Linked DNA regions of Homo sapiens: region 1 is linked to region 2. The links are contacts of gene promoters, found by promoter capture Hi-C in blood cells and fetal thymus (Javierre and others, 2016). All regions are on one chromosome and are shown on one strand. Each heading gives the region's core, a stretch centred on a gene start or on the middle of the fragment in contact. The rest is flanking DNA. Distances are from core to core; before and after follow the strand shown. Region 1 has its middle 5.7 kb from the start of COX6A1. Region 2 holds the start of MSI1 (musashi RNA binding protein 1).

Region 1 (6,714 bases), core at 298-2,797, 65 kb before region 2:
ACAGGGATCAGGAACTCCTGGGTTCAAATCTCTGGTTTGCCACCAGCTATGCTTCCTCTTCTCTACAATAGGAATGTAATAATGTAATATGCATTTATTCATTCCTTTGTATAACAAATTTTTTTTTTGAGATGGAGTCTTGCTCTGTCACCCAAGCTGGAGTGTGGTGGCACAATCTTGGCTCACTGCAACCTCCACCTCCTGGGTTCAAGCAATTCTCCTGCCTCAGCCTCCCGAGTAGCTGGGATTACAGGCGTGCGCCACCACACGCGGCTAATTTGTGAATTTTTTAGTAGAGATGGGGCTTCACCACGTTGGCCAGGCTGGTCTCAAACTCCTGACCTCAAGTGATTCACCTGCCTCGGCCTCCCAAAGTGCTGGGATTACAAGCATGAGCCACTGCACCTAACAAGCATCCTGAGTAGTTAGGACTACAAGTGCACACCACCTCATCCAGCTAATTTTTTTTTTTTTAGAGACGGGGTCTTACTATGTTGCTCAGGCTGATCTCAAACTCCTGAGTTTAAGCGATCCTCCCACCTCAGCCTCTCAAAGTTCTGGAATTACAGGTGTCGGCCACTGTTCCTGACCCAGAGCCAGAATTTAAATCTAGAAGTCTGGCCCCAAAGCCTCCATGTTTAACCACTCTGAGATACTGCACTCTTAGCACAGTGCCTGGCACAAAATGAGTGCTCAATAATTGTTAACTGTTAGAATTGTCTTGATCTAGTCCAGGTGCGATGGCTCATGCCTGTAATCCCAGCACTTTGGGAGGCCGAGGCAGGTGGATCACCTGAGGTCAGGAGTTCGAGACCAGCCTGGCCAATATGGTGAAACCCTGTCTCTACTAAAAATACAAAAATTAGCCGGGCGTGATGGTGGGCACCTGTAATCCCAGCTACTTGGAAGGCTGAGGCAGGAGAATCGCTTGAACCTGGGAGGTGGAGGTTGCAGTGAGCAGAGATCGTGCCATTGCACTCCAGCCTGGGTGACAAGAGTGAAACTCTGTCTCAAAAAAAAAAAAAACAAGGAATTATCTTGATCTGTTGAAACAAAACTACTTCAAGTTGGAACTAGTCTTAAATTTTTTGACCATAAAAGAAAAAAAAACAAAGAATTGTCTTGATCGAGGTGGTACAGGGTCAATAGAAGAGGATCAAAATGGCATTTGGCTTTGGAGGGGCAGTCAGTCTGCCCTCCTGTAGGATATGACATCTAAGTCACCTACCCTCAAATAAATGAGTGAGTCAGAGACAAGTTTGGGCTGGGATGGAAAGAGTTTTCCAGAAAGATATCTTTCCAAAAGATACCACCAGAGAGGCTGGGTGCAGTGGCTCATGACTGTAATCCCAGCACTTCGGGAGGCCAAGGCAGGCGGATCACCTGAGGTCAGGAGTTTCAGACCAGCCTGGCCAACATGACAAAACCCCGTCTCTACTAAAAATACAAAAATTAGCTGGGTGTGCTGACACACACCTGTAATCCCAGCTACTTGGGAAGCTGAGGCATGAGAATCGCTTGAACCCAGGAGGCAGAGCTTGCAGTGAGACATGATTGCACTACTGCACTCCAGCCTGGGCAACAGAGGAGACTCTGTCAAAAAAAAAAAAAAAAAAAAAAAGGCCAGGCGCTGTGACTCACACCTGTAATCCCAGCACTTTGGGAGGCTGAGGCGGGTGGATCACCTGAGGTCAGGAGTTCTAGACCAGCCTGGCCAACATGGTAAAACCCCGTCTCTACTAAAAATACAAAAAAAAAAAAAAATTAGCCAGACGTGGTGGCAGACATCTGTAATCCCAACTGCTTGGGAGGCTGAGGCAGGAGAATCTCTTGACCTGGGAGGCAGAGGTTGCAGTGAGCCAAGATCACGCCATTGCACTCCAGCCTGGACGACAAGAGTGAAACACCGTCTTAAAAAAAAATTAGCCAGGTGTGGTGGCGGGCACCTATAATCCCAGCTACCTGGGAGGCTGAAGCACAAGAATCACTTGAACCTGGGAGGTGGAGGTTGCAGTGAGCCAAGATCCAGCCTGGGCGACAGAGCCAGACTCCGTCTCAAAAAAAAAAAAAAAGATTTCTGACTGAAGTGCACCTAGAGGTTTGCATAGAAGGCATAGAAGGCTGGGTGTCAGGGTTGGTTTCCTTGCAGTGGGAGGGGGCGGTCCAGCTGGGGTAGGCTGAATAGCGTAGCTGTGCAGGTTAGAACACTGGATTTAGACCTTGAGCCACCCAGGTTTGAGCCTTGGCCCTAGCCCTTCCTGCTAGGAAGACCTAGAGCAATCTGCTTTACTCTGAGCCTTTCTTTCTTCATTCATAAATGGGGCTAATAACTGGATCTTCCAGAGATGTTGTGAGCTTAAATGTGTCAATGTAGGTAGAAAGCCTGACACGTGGGGGCGGGTGTGCACAGTGATAGCTATTACTTATTTCTGTGTTCCTACCCCCACCTCTCAACCTTCTGCCGAGCTAGATTGTCAGCTTTAGAGGGCAGACCCCCAGTATCATCTATCTCTGTGACCCCATAGAATTTGGTGCTCAGTTATTTTTCCTTACTGGTCCCTGTTGATGCTCATACACTCGTCTACACCCGAGGTTCTGCTTAGGCCAGCCCCACGTGGTTCCCCACCTCTGTCTGCACACATCACACTCGGTTCTCACCTCTTCCAGGAAGCCTTTCCTGGTTACATCCTGACCCTGGCCTCTGGTCCCCCAGTGATGTTCAGCCCACTGTACCTCTTATGATGACTATTCCACTTCCTCATTCCACTTCAGGCCCCAGGAGACCCCCTAACCTTTTTTTTTTTTTTTTAAGACAGAGTCTTGCTCTGTCACCCAGGCTGTAGTGTAGTGACACGATCTCGACTCACTACAACCTCCGCCTCCTGGGTTCAAGCAATTCTCCTGCCTCAGCCTTCTGAGTAGCTGGAATTACAGGCATCTGCCACCACACCCGGCTAATTTTTGTATTTTTAGTAGAGATGGGGTTTCACCACGTTGGCCAGGCTGGTCTCGAACTCCTGACCTCAGGTGATCTGCCCACCTCGGCCTCCCAAAGTGCTGGGATTACAGGCGTGAGCCACTGCGCCCGGCCAGGAGACCCCTTTTTTTTTCGGATTCCTCTAAATTCTCTCAATGCCTGGCACAGGCCAGGCATAACAAAATGGTTAAGAACTCAGGTTCTCAGACAAAGCTGGATTTAAGTCCACCTCTGGCTGGGTGAGGTGGCTCACACCTATAGTCTCAGCACTTTGGGAGGCTGAGATAGGAGGATCACTTGAACCCTGGAGTTCAAGACCAACCTAGGCAACATGGCGAACCCCTATCTCTACAAAAAATACAGAAATTAGCTGGGCATGGTGATGCCTGCCTGTAATCTCAGCTACTTGCGAGGCTGAGGTGGAGGATTGCTTGAGTCCAGGAAGTAGAGGTTGCAGTGAGCCAAGGTCATGCCACTGCACTCCATCCTGGGCAACAGAGTGAGACCCTATCTTTTTTTTTTTTTTTGAGACGGAGTCTCACTCTGTCACCCAGGCTGGAGTGCAGTGGCACAATCTCAGCTCACTGCAACCTCTGCCTCCCTGGTTCACGCGATTCTCCTGCCTCAGCCTCCCGAGTGGCTGGGATTACAGGCACCCGCCAACTTGCCTGGCTAATTTTTGTATTTTTAGTAGAGACGGGGTTTCACCATCTTGGCCAGGCTGGTCTCGAACTCCTGACCTCGTGATCCACCTGCCTCGGCCTCCCAAAATGCTGGGATTACAGGCGTGAGCCACCACACCCAGCCAAAACCCTATCTTAAAATATAAAAATAAATCCAGGTTCTGCTGCTATTGCTGGACAAGTAATTTTATGCTTCAGTTTCTTCATCTGCAGAATGAGGAAAATAATAGTACCTACTGTTAGGGTTTTTGGGAGAACTGAACATGATGATGTGTGTAAAGCACTTAGCACTTTCCTCAACCTATAGCAGTGATTTGTGTTATATTATTATTAATAAACCACTATTACATTAAGTTTAAAACAAAGCAGATATATTGTATGTGAAAAGGTGGTATATTGGAATGTATTGATATCGGTCCCTCTTACATTATATCTCAATAAAGCTGTTAAAAACAAGAAAGCAGGCTACAAAATATTAAATGTATACTTCTATTTTTGTAAAACACACGACAATTCCGTAAGGGCTACACTCACATGTTGACAGAAGTTATGTCTGGGCTTTAAATTTTCTTTTTAAATTTTCTACCATGAACGTATAGTACTTGTATTATAAGAACAAAAGCTTTCATCAAAAAGCAGATTATAAAGTTGCTATAGGCTAGGCGTGGTGGCTCATGCCTGTAATCAGAACATTTTGGGAGGCTGAGGCAGGAGGATTGCTTGATTCCAGGACTTTAAGACCAGCCTGGGCAACATAGGGAGATCCCATCTCTATTAAAAAAAAAAAAAGTTTTTTCTTGCATTGCTGTAAAGAAATTTTAAAAAGGTCAGGCATGGTGACTCACACCTGGAATCCCAGCACTTTAGGAGGCCGAGGTGGGTGGATCACCTGAGGTCAGGAGCTCGATACCAGCCTGTGACTAATATGATGAAACCCTGTCTCTACTAAAAACACAAAAATTGGCCTGGCGCCGTGGTTCACGCCTCTCATCCCAGCACTTTGGGAGGCCGAGTCGGGTGGATCACGAGGTCAGGAGATGAGACCATCCTGGCTAACACGGTGAAACCCCGTCTCTACTAAAAATACAAAAAAACTATCCCGGCGTGGTGGCGGGCGCCTGTAGTCCCAGCTACTCAGTAGGCTGAGAAGAATCGCTTGAGCCCGGGAGGCGGAGGTTGCAGTGAGCCGAGATTGCGCCATTGTACTCCAGCCTGGGCAGCAAGAGCGAAACTCCGTCTCAAAAAAAAAAAAAAAAGTTTTAATCAAGTCGCTAGCGGCACTTCCGTTGCTGGTATTAGTTCCATTAGATTGTAAGCCACATGAGGGCAGGGACCCCTTCTGCCTGGAACAGAAAAGGCGCTCAGTGAACATTTACAGCAAAGCCACCGGGTGGGGCGACTCTTGACACCCGCGTCTGCAGTACCGCTCTCGCCCAGTGGGTGGCAGGCTCCGCATGTGCGGGCGCCGCCCACGAGCCTGGCCAGAGGAGTCACGCCCGCCACCTTATACGTGGCTGTCTGGTCTCAGGATCCTTGGAGGAGGAGGGGAGGTGGAGCTTGTGCGAGGGCTGGAGAGGACCCTTCCTGGGCCTCAAGGACTCCTTTTTTTTTTTTTTTTTTTTTTTTAATAATTTCTTTAGAGACAGGGTCTCTGTCGCCCAGGCTGGAGTTCAGTGGCGCCAGGTTAGTGATCGCTTTGAGAGAAAGACCTCGGCCAGGCGCAGAGTGGCTCACGCCTGTAATCCCAGCACTTTGGGAGGCCGAGGCGGGCGGATCACCTGACGTCAGGAGTTCAAGACCAGCCTGGCCCACATGGCGAAACCCTGTCTCTACTAAAAATACAAAAATTAAACGGGCTTGGTGGCACATGCCTGTAATCCCAGCTACTCGGGAGGCTGAGGCAGGAGAATCGCTTGAACCTGGGAGGCAGTTCTGCTCAGTCTCTTGAGTAGCTGGGGTTACAGGCATCCGCCACCATGCCCAGCTAATTTTGGTATTTTTAGTAGAGACCGGGTTTCACCATGTTGGCCAGGCTTGTCTGGAATTCCTGACCTCAGGTGATCCGCCTGCCTCGGCCTCCCAAAGTGCTAGGATTACAGGTGTGAGCCACCACGCCCGGCCAAGTTTTGTATTTTTTGTAGAGATGGGGTTTCACCATGTTGCCCAGGCTGGTCTCAAACTCCTGAATTCAAGTGATCCTCCTGCCTCAGCTTCCCAAAGTGTTGGGATTACAAGTGTGAGCCAGGTTGCCTGGCCAGGAGATCCTTCTAAAGTATAATCTGCCTATCCCACCATCCCTGTTTGAAACCCTGTTGCCCCCAGGATAGAACTCAAACTACTTACTCTGACCTCCAAGGTGCTAAGGAATACCATCGCTGCCTATCTCCACCATTATCCCTAGGGACACCACATCCATCCTCCGAGCTAGGCTTCCTTCTGTTTCTGAAATGTGCCAAGCCCCTTCCAACCTCAGGACCTTCGCTCGGGCGGTTCCCTGTCCCAGGACTGCTCTTCCCCCTCCCCCATTAACTTCTAAGTCGCCTGGGAAAAGCTTCACGAGAGCAGGGAGCTTGTCTGTCTTGCTGACTCCTATATCCCAACACCAAACACAGTACCTGACACAAACAAAGTGCTTACTTTTTTTTTTTTTCCTGAGATAGAGTCTCAGTCTGTCACCCAGGCTGGAGTGCAGTGGCCCAATCTTGGCTCACTGCAATCTCTGTCTCCTGAGTTCAAGCAATTCTCCTGCCTCAGCCTCCCTAGTAGCTGGGATTACAGGCATGTGCCACTACACCCAGCTTTATACATATATATATGTATCATCAAAAAAATATATATATATACACACACACATACATATACACACAAGTCAATTCTGCTTCTTTAAATTTTGACACAATGTCTGGACTCTTACAGTGCAATATAACAGGTCATGAATTATGAATTCTGTTTTTATCTAGCAGATTCATGTGCTCCACAGCTATTTTCTAAACTCCACCCAGGCAATCACCACAGTCCTGTCTGCATTTCCCACGACAGTCTGCAGAGTAATAA
Region 2 (5,916 bases), core at 1,299-3,798:
ATTTCCTTTTTTTTTTTTAATCCAAAATGTGTTTATTGAGATGGTTTCCCACTCATCTTGATTCAGAGTGCTTTGGGTGCTGCTTCCTCCTGAAGGAACATCCTTCTGTAGCCTTCCTTTTCCTCCTGTAGGCTGGCAGAGAACAGTGGAGCAGGCAACACACAAAACTACCGTTTGTGCATGGCTACAGACCATGGTGATTTTATAGCATCCTGGGCATGTCATATCCATGAAGTAGGAATCGGGACTCTGCACCAGGCGTTTCTTCTTCTGTTTCCTCTTCTCTTCTGGAGAAGGATGAAGGAGATCCCTGTCGAGAGGCATGTTCTCGTGGGTAGGTCGCCACTGCCGGAAAGGACCCATTTCCTATCCTTCAAGCTCATCTGCCCAGCAGCACCAGCACACAAACCAAAGTCCAGGAACACTGGAAGATCCCTACTCCCCGCACCTCTCCAATGACCCTTTTTAAGTTCAGACCTAAGAAGAGTCACCTCCCTAATACCGCAGAGGCTACCTGCTCACCCTCATCTGTGTCTCTGCTACAACACAAACTGGAATGCTTTTGTGTCGGAATGGTAAGAAATGCCTTGTGTGGGTGGCCCTCCAGTCCCCAGTCCAGGGGATGCTGAGAAACTGTGGGGCAGAGTAGGGGACACAAACAGGAAAAAGCAAGTTTGTTTCTAGTGTTATGCTCACAGGGTGGCAGGATATACCTGCTGAGCATTCCCAGAAGGTCCCCAAGGAAACCATTACTGTAAGTCTCTCACTTTCTTCTCTGCCTGATGGTTGGGGTGGGGAGAGGGAAGGAGGGCTATCAAGAGGGGGATGGGCACCCTTCCAGAGGTCAGAGTTATGATGCCCAGGAATAAAAGGTGTTGAATTCAGGATGGAATGTGAAGGTGAACAGCAAAGGGCTTGTCAACATGGGTTGTCACTGGATTACACCGGATGGATTAAGGTAGGGATGGGGGAAGGAGTAGAAGGTGAGTTGGGAGGGAGGGGCTTGTGTGGCACTGAGACCCCCAGCAGGGATGGGGAGAAGGGGTGTTGGCCACCTAAGCTTCCTGGTTTGATCCTTTTTTGGCTGGTTTCAGCTGGGGAAGTGAAGGGTCCTAAGGCTTGGATATGGAGAGGTGGGAATATGGAGAGGTGGGGATATGGAGAGGCGGGGATAAGGAGAGGTGGGGATAAGGAGAGTGGCCCCGCAGCTCCCCTGGTGAACCAGAATACTTTCTCAGGGTTGTTCCCAGGCTGGAGGGAGGGAATTTTAGGGGTACGTAAGGTGACTCCAAGGAGCCTTGGGTGCAAGTACTGGGGGATCCCAGAGACCCAGAAGATGGGGGTAGAAAGGAAGGTGTTTGCCTTCACGGGGAGTAGCCTCAAAATAAGAGGGACTGAGGGAAGTCATTCCAAATGCAGTGGGTAGGTAGTTTAGGCTCTTCCAATGGGATGGGGTGGAGCTTAGACCTCTGCAAAAGAAGGGGGTCATTCGGAGGGGACGGTGCACAGCTGAGGCGTTGGGCTCCTAAACTGGAAACAGGAGGCTCTAAGAGGCACTGCCTTTTCCTCCAGCCTCGGTGTGGTGGGGGTGGTGAGTGTCTGGAACCGGGTTTCCCGAATCAGGACAGGAGTCTGAATGGATCTCACAAAAACCGGCCAGGGAGGGAGAGAACCAGGGGAGACTCCTCACACCGGGAGGTGGGGGTGGCGGCAAACTGAGAACCCGGGCTTGGGGCGCGGGATTTTCTCAACAGACCATAGGGTCCACTAATGTGGACGGCAGGGATTTGGGGAAACTAAGGGGGACTCTCACTTTGGACACCAAGGGCTGAGGACGGATTGGGGAAGAGGATACGGTTTCTACTGGGGTGCTGATGGAGGTTCCCCACTCGGGACGCGAGGCACTGAGTGGGTCCCCCAAACTGGATATGGGATCCTGGGAACGGAGCGAGGGCTCTAAATTAGAGCCCTGGGGTGGGGGTGGGGGGCTGTAAATTAGGTTGGGAGGAAACTGGGGGCTCTGAGGGCGGCTTCTCGCTCCGACTGGGGAAATGGAGCATGTGGGGACTGGGGAGCACTAGGGCTATCTCCCGCCCGACCCGAGGAGATTGGGGTTCTCTTCAATTCTGGACAGCAGGGACCTGAGAGGGAAGACCGGGGGGGTTCCCGATCCGGAACCGAGCTACCTTGAAGGCACCGGGAAGCGCTTCATTCCGGGAGGGCGTTCCCGCGGCCGGGCCCCCGCGCCGGGGTGGGTGGGGGGTGCGGCCGCGCCCTGGTCCCGGCCCGCACCGGGATTCGGGGGTCTCGCTCGGCCCCGGAGACCCAGGAGCCCCGCGGGAAGGGGGTCCCGGCGCCGCCGCCTCCGCGGGCGCCCGGGCTCGCGGGCGAGCGCGGGGCTTTATGCGCGCAGGGCGGCGGGGGGAGGAGCCGGCAGGTCGGCCCCCGGCGGGCCCTCCCCTCGGCCGTCCCCGCCCGCCCGCCCGAGCGGGGTCGGGGGAGGGGGCAGCATGGCCTGTCCGTCCGGCCCCCTTCGCCGCGCTCCTCATCTGCCCCGCGCCGAGCGCCGCCGCCGCCGCCGCCGCCGCCGCTCCGCTGCCCGCGCCGCCCGCGGCTCCCGATGGAGACTGACGCGCCCCAGCCCGGCCTCGCCTCCCCGGACTCGCCGCACGACCCCTGGTACGGCCCGGCCCGGCCTGCTTGGCCCGCGCCCGCCCCGGCCCCGCCAACATGGCCGATCCGGGTCCGGCCGGGCCTCCCCGGAGCCCGGGCCCGCGCCCCCTGCGCCCTGGCGCCCGGCGCTCACGCGGGCCCTTTGTGTCTCTCCTCCTCCCGCAGCAAGATGTTCATCGGGGGACTCAGTTGGCAGACTACGCAGGGTGAGCGAGCCCGGGAGCGCCCGCCGGTCCGGCAGGGCACCCCGGACCCCCCGGCGCCCCGGACCCGGACACCCCAGCCCGGCCCTGCGCCCTGCTGACCCCGGGCGCCCTCGCGCCCTCTTTCGCGCCCCGCCCGGAGACCCCGAGAGCGCAGGGCGATCCGCGAGCGCACCCGGCCCAGCGGGTGGAGGGGAGCAGATGAGGGGTTCAGGGGGTATCGGGGGGTGGGCTGGGCCCCCGGGACCCGCCGGCGGCAGCGCCAACTCCGCTCGCACCTGCGGCTCAAACTTTTGTGAGGCTGCTCCCGGAGCGGCGGGAACCCGGCCGGAGCCGTCCCCCTTCCAGCCCAGCTCGGCCCTCGGCTTCCCGGGGCCCCGGTGGGCGCCAGGAGGCTCAGCGGGAACGGGGCGAGGGCGGTGGGGGGCGGCGGCAGTGGAGAACGCGCGGGCAGCTTGGCGCGGGGGCGGCCGGGCCGCTCCGGGGTCACCGGGGGCAAAGGACGGGGGGGGGGGAAGGGCGCGGGGCCCGGGCTGGTCCGAAGGCGGGTGTGTGGTTACAGAAGGGCTGCGCGAATACTTCGGCCAGTTCGGGGAGGTGAAGGAGTGTCTGGTGATGCGGGACCCCCTGACCAAGAGATCCAGGTGAGCCCCTCACCCCCTCCTCCTGCTCCCGGCTCGCCCCCCTCCACCCGCCACTCACTGCCTTGTAACCATCTGCCTCTCCCTCACTACGGCGCGCAGGGGTTTCGGCTTCGTCACTTTCATGGACCAGGCGGGGGTGGATAAAGTGCTGGCGCAATCGCGGCACGAGCTCGACTCCAAAACAGTGAGTGGCCCTCGGGGCTTCGGGGGTCCTTTGGGAGAGGGAGGCTGCCGGAGGAGAGGGTCAGGACTCTCCCCAGGGGACAGCTGGACGGGGTCCATGAGGAAGGAGGGAGTTTTTCTGAGTAAGAGGGCTGCCATGCTCTGAAACTTTGTCACTAGAGTTGGGGGGGAGAGGGAGGAGAAAAATCCCTGGCCTGCCATGAGATGCTACATCCCCCCTCCCCTAGTCCTGGTGAGGGGAGAGGCAGCCGCCACCCTCTCCCTAGAAGTACTAATCATGATGCCTCAGAGCAGAGCTTGGGGTGGGGCTAGGTCCCTCCCCCAGCCCAAATTGGGTGAGTCAGGGTAGCACTGACCCACCCGGTGGCTTCTGTGAACTCTAACTAGTATTTGGCTCTGCGACACCCCCTCTTCATCCAGACCAATGGCAAAGCATCCCTTGAAGCCCCCTCCCTCTCTCCTTCCCTCCTCCCCCGACTTTTGGTCAATGAGCTCCTTGCTTTGTGTGGAAGACAGGGACCTGCTTTGCCCACGGAGGGGATTTATGAGAAAGGCTCTAGCTTGCCTGGAAACGACCCTTCGGAAGACTAGATCTTAGGAGAAGCTGCTTGGTTGGCATTCAAACTCATGGAACATTTTGCTGTTGTCCCACAGCTCCTTCGTGTCTTAGACCCTGCAGGGGGCGCTGGCTCCAGGGCAGATGGAAAAGTAGAAAAGTCAGAGGAGGGGGTTACTCCCATGTGATGGGGGTGTCTGTCTGCTGGGGGCAGGGATAGTGTGGATCTCTTCTCTCCATGCTTCCCTGCTGTCCCCCAGCCTTGGGCCTCTCTGCTTGGGTCAGTCCCTGGCTCCCGTTTACCTGCAACAATAGCTGCTTGTGCCCAAGAATTTGTCAAATTACCGCCTGTCCCCAGCTCCTGTTATCTCTGCCCAGTGGCTCCCGCTCCCGCTCGCAGTAATGAGCAAATGAGGCCAGGCCTCAACTTTGCCGGCTCTGAAAGGATCTTCTTGGCGCAGCCTGAGTGACCCAAGCCTGGAAATGGAGAGACAGTGGCCTATTGTTTTTGGTGATTATCTGCCATCAAGCTGCCTGTTCTGCTACCATCCCCTGTCCTCAGAATGCACTGATGGCTTCTGCAGTGCTGAGGAAGCTGAGATTTAGGGGCTGGGGGATGGAGGAGTGGAAGATTGATAAAGGGGAAGAGAATGAGGGAGGAAGGAGGGTGAGATGAGCATCCTTAGGAGATGGGGCTGAAAAGGGCCAGGGCTTTGTCTGTGTTTGGCGTCCTCCAGCCTGGGAAAGGGGGTGGGAGGGAGGTTTACTGTGGGGAGTCTATTTTGAGCTCTGACTTTCACCTTTTATTTACTTGTTGGGTTTTATTTATGTTGCCAGCTGTGAGTCACAGTGGAGGTGGGGTGTGTCAGGGATGGGGTGTGCGTGGGTCTGTGGGATCGTGGCTTGGGTACCATCTCCCCATCGGGGTCTGTGTAGGGGGACTGTGTGTGGTGCGCTGGTGGCTGGGGCGGCTGCTTCTGGGAGAAAGAGAAGGATGGACATGTCCGTGGAGGTGTGGAATTGAAACTTCAGGCGGGAGAAATGGGCAGTTGTGATTTTTCCCTGGAGCCCAGTGGGACTTGGCAGGAGAGGAGGCATTGCCCCAGTGTGGATTTTGGAGGTTCCATCTCTGTGGACAGATTCCAGTGGGGGAGCCTGTAGGAGGCTAGTTCCTGGTCTGTGCCATTCAGAGAGAAGCCAGAGCCAGCTGCCTAGAACGAGGCTGAGTTTTGAACAGAAGGAACTTTGGGAAAAGATAGATCTTCCCTGCGATTGGCTGGTGAACTTATGAATGACGTCCACCCATGTGGGTGGCAAAAAGCTCTGGCCTGACCTGGCCCTGTAGGCCCTGCATGGATCACAGCGTCTCATGCCCTGTCTTTTGCTGTTTGTCGTACAGCTATAGTACCCAGGAGTACACCCAGATGCATCTTGATTTTTCCCTCTGGTTGTTCACAGCCAAGGGCAAAGGTGGCCTGCTGGTAATAGCACCTTTGTTTGTGCAATGAAGGGCAGTTCACAAAGGGCCGCTTTCACCCGCGTTATCTCATCTGATTCCCCGCAGCTGCCCCTGGGAAAAGCGGGTGTGATTGTCCCCACTTTGCAGATGAAGGAACTGAGGCTCACAGAGTTCGAGTGCATTACCAAGATCACAGGC

Evidence for each region. The method cuts DNA at HindIII sites, captures the fragments that hold promoters and counts their contacts. A CHiCAGO score of 5 or more calls a contact.
Region 1: a fragment that was not itself captured here is called in contact with the fragment with the promoter of MSI1 in region 2 in 9 of 17 cell types (megakaryocytes, endothelial precursors, M2 macrophages and 6 more); the score reaches 18.1 in megakaryocytes.

The regions. Positions count from the first base shown.
Region 1 is chr12:120,429,009-120,435,722 of GRCh38, reverse strand. No RefSeq gene overlaps it. Among named protein-coding and RNA genes, the nearest start is that of COX6A1, 5.7 kb to the left of the region's middle. RefSeq lists a silencer at 2,031-2,231. The HindIII fragment of the contact is 5,474 bases long and covers 1-4,284 here.
Region 2 is chr12:120,365,796-120,371,711 of GRCh38, reverse strand. MSI1 (musashi RNA binding protein 1) reads left to right here and starts at 2,548. Exons shown (of 15, transcript NM_002442.4): 1 at 2,548-2,679; 2 at 2,839-2,879; 3 at 3,439-3,520; 4 at 3,620-3,704. The coding sequence starts at 2,621. It also overlaps the pseudogene RPS27P25. RefSeq lists a silencer at 5,795-5,916. The HindIII fragment of the contact is 14,859 bases long and covers 1,063-5,916 here.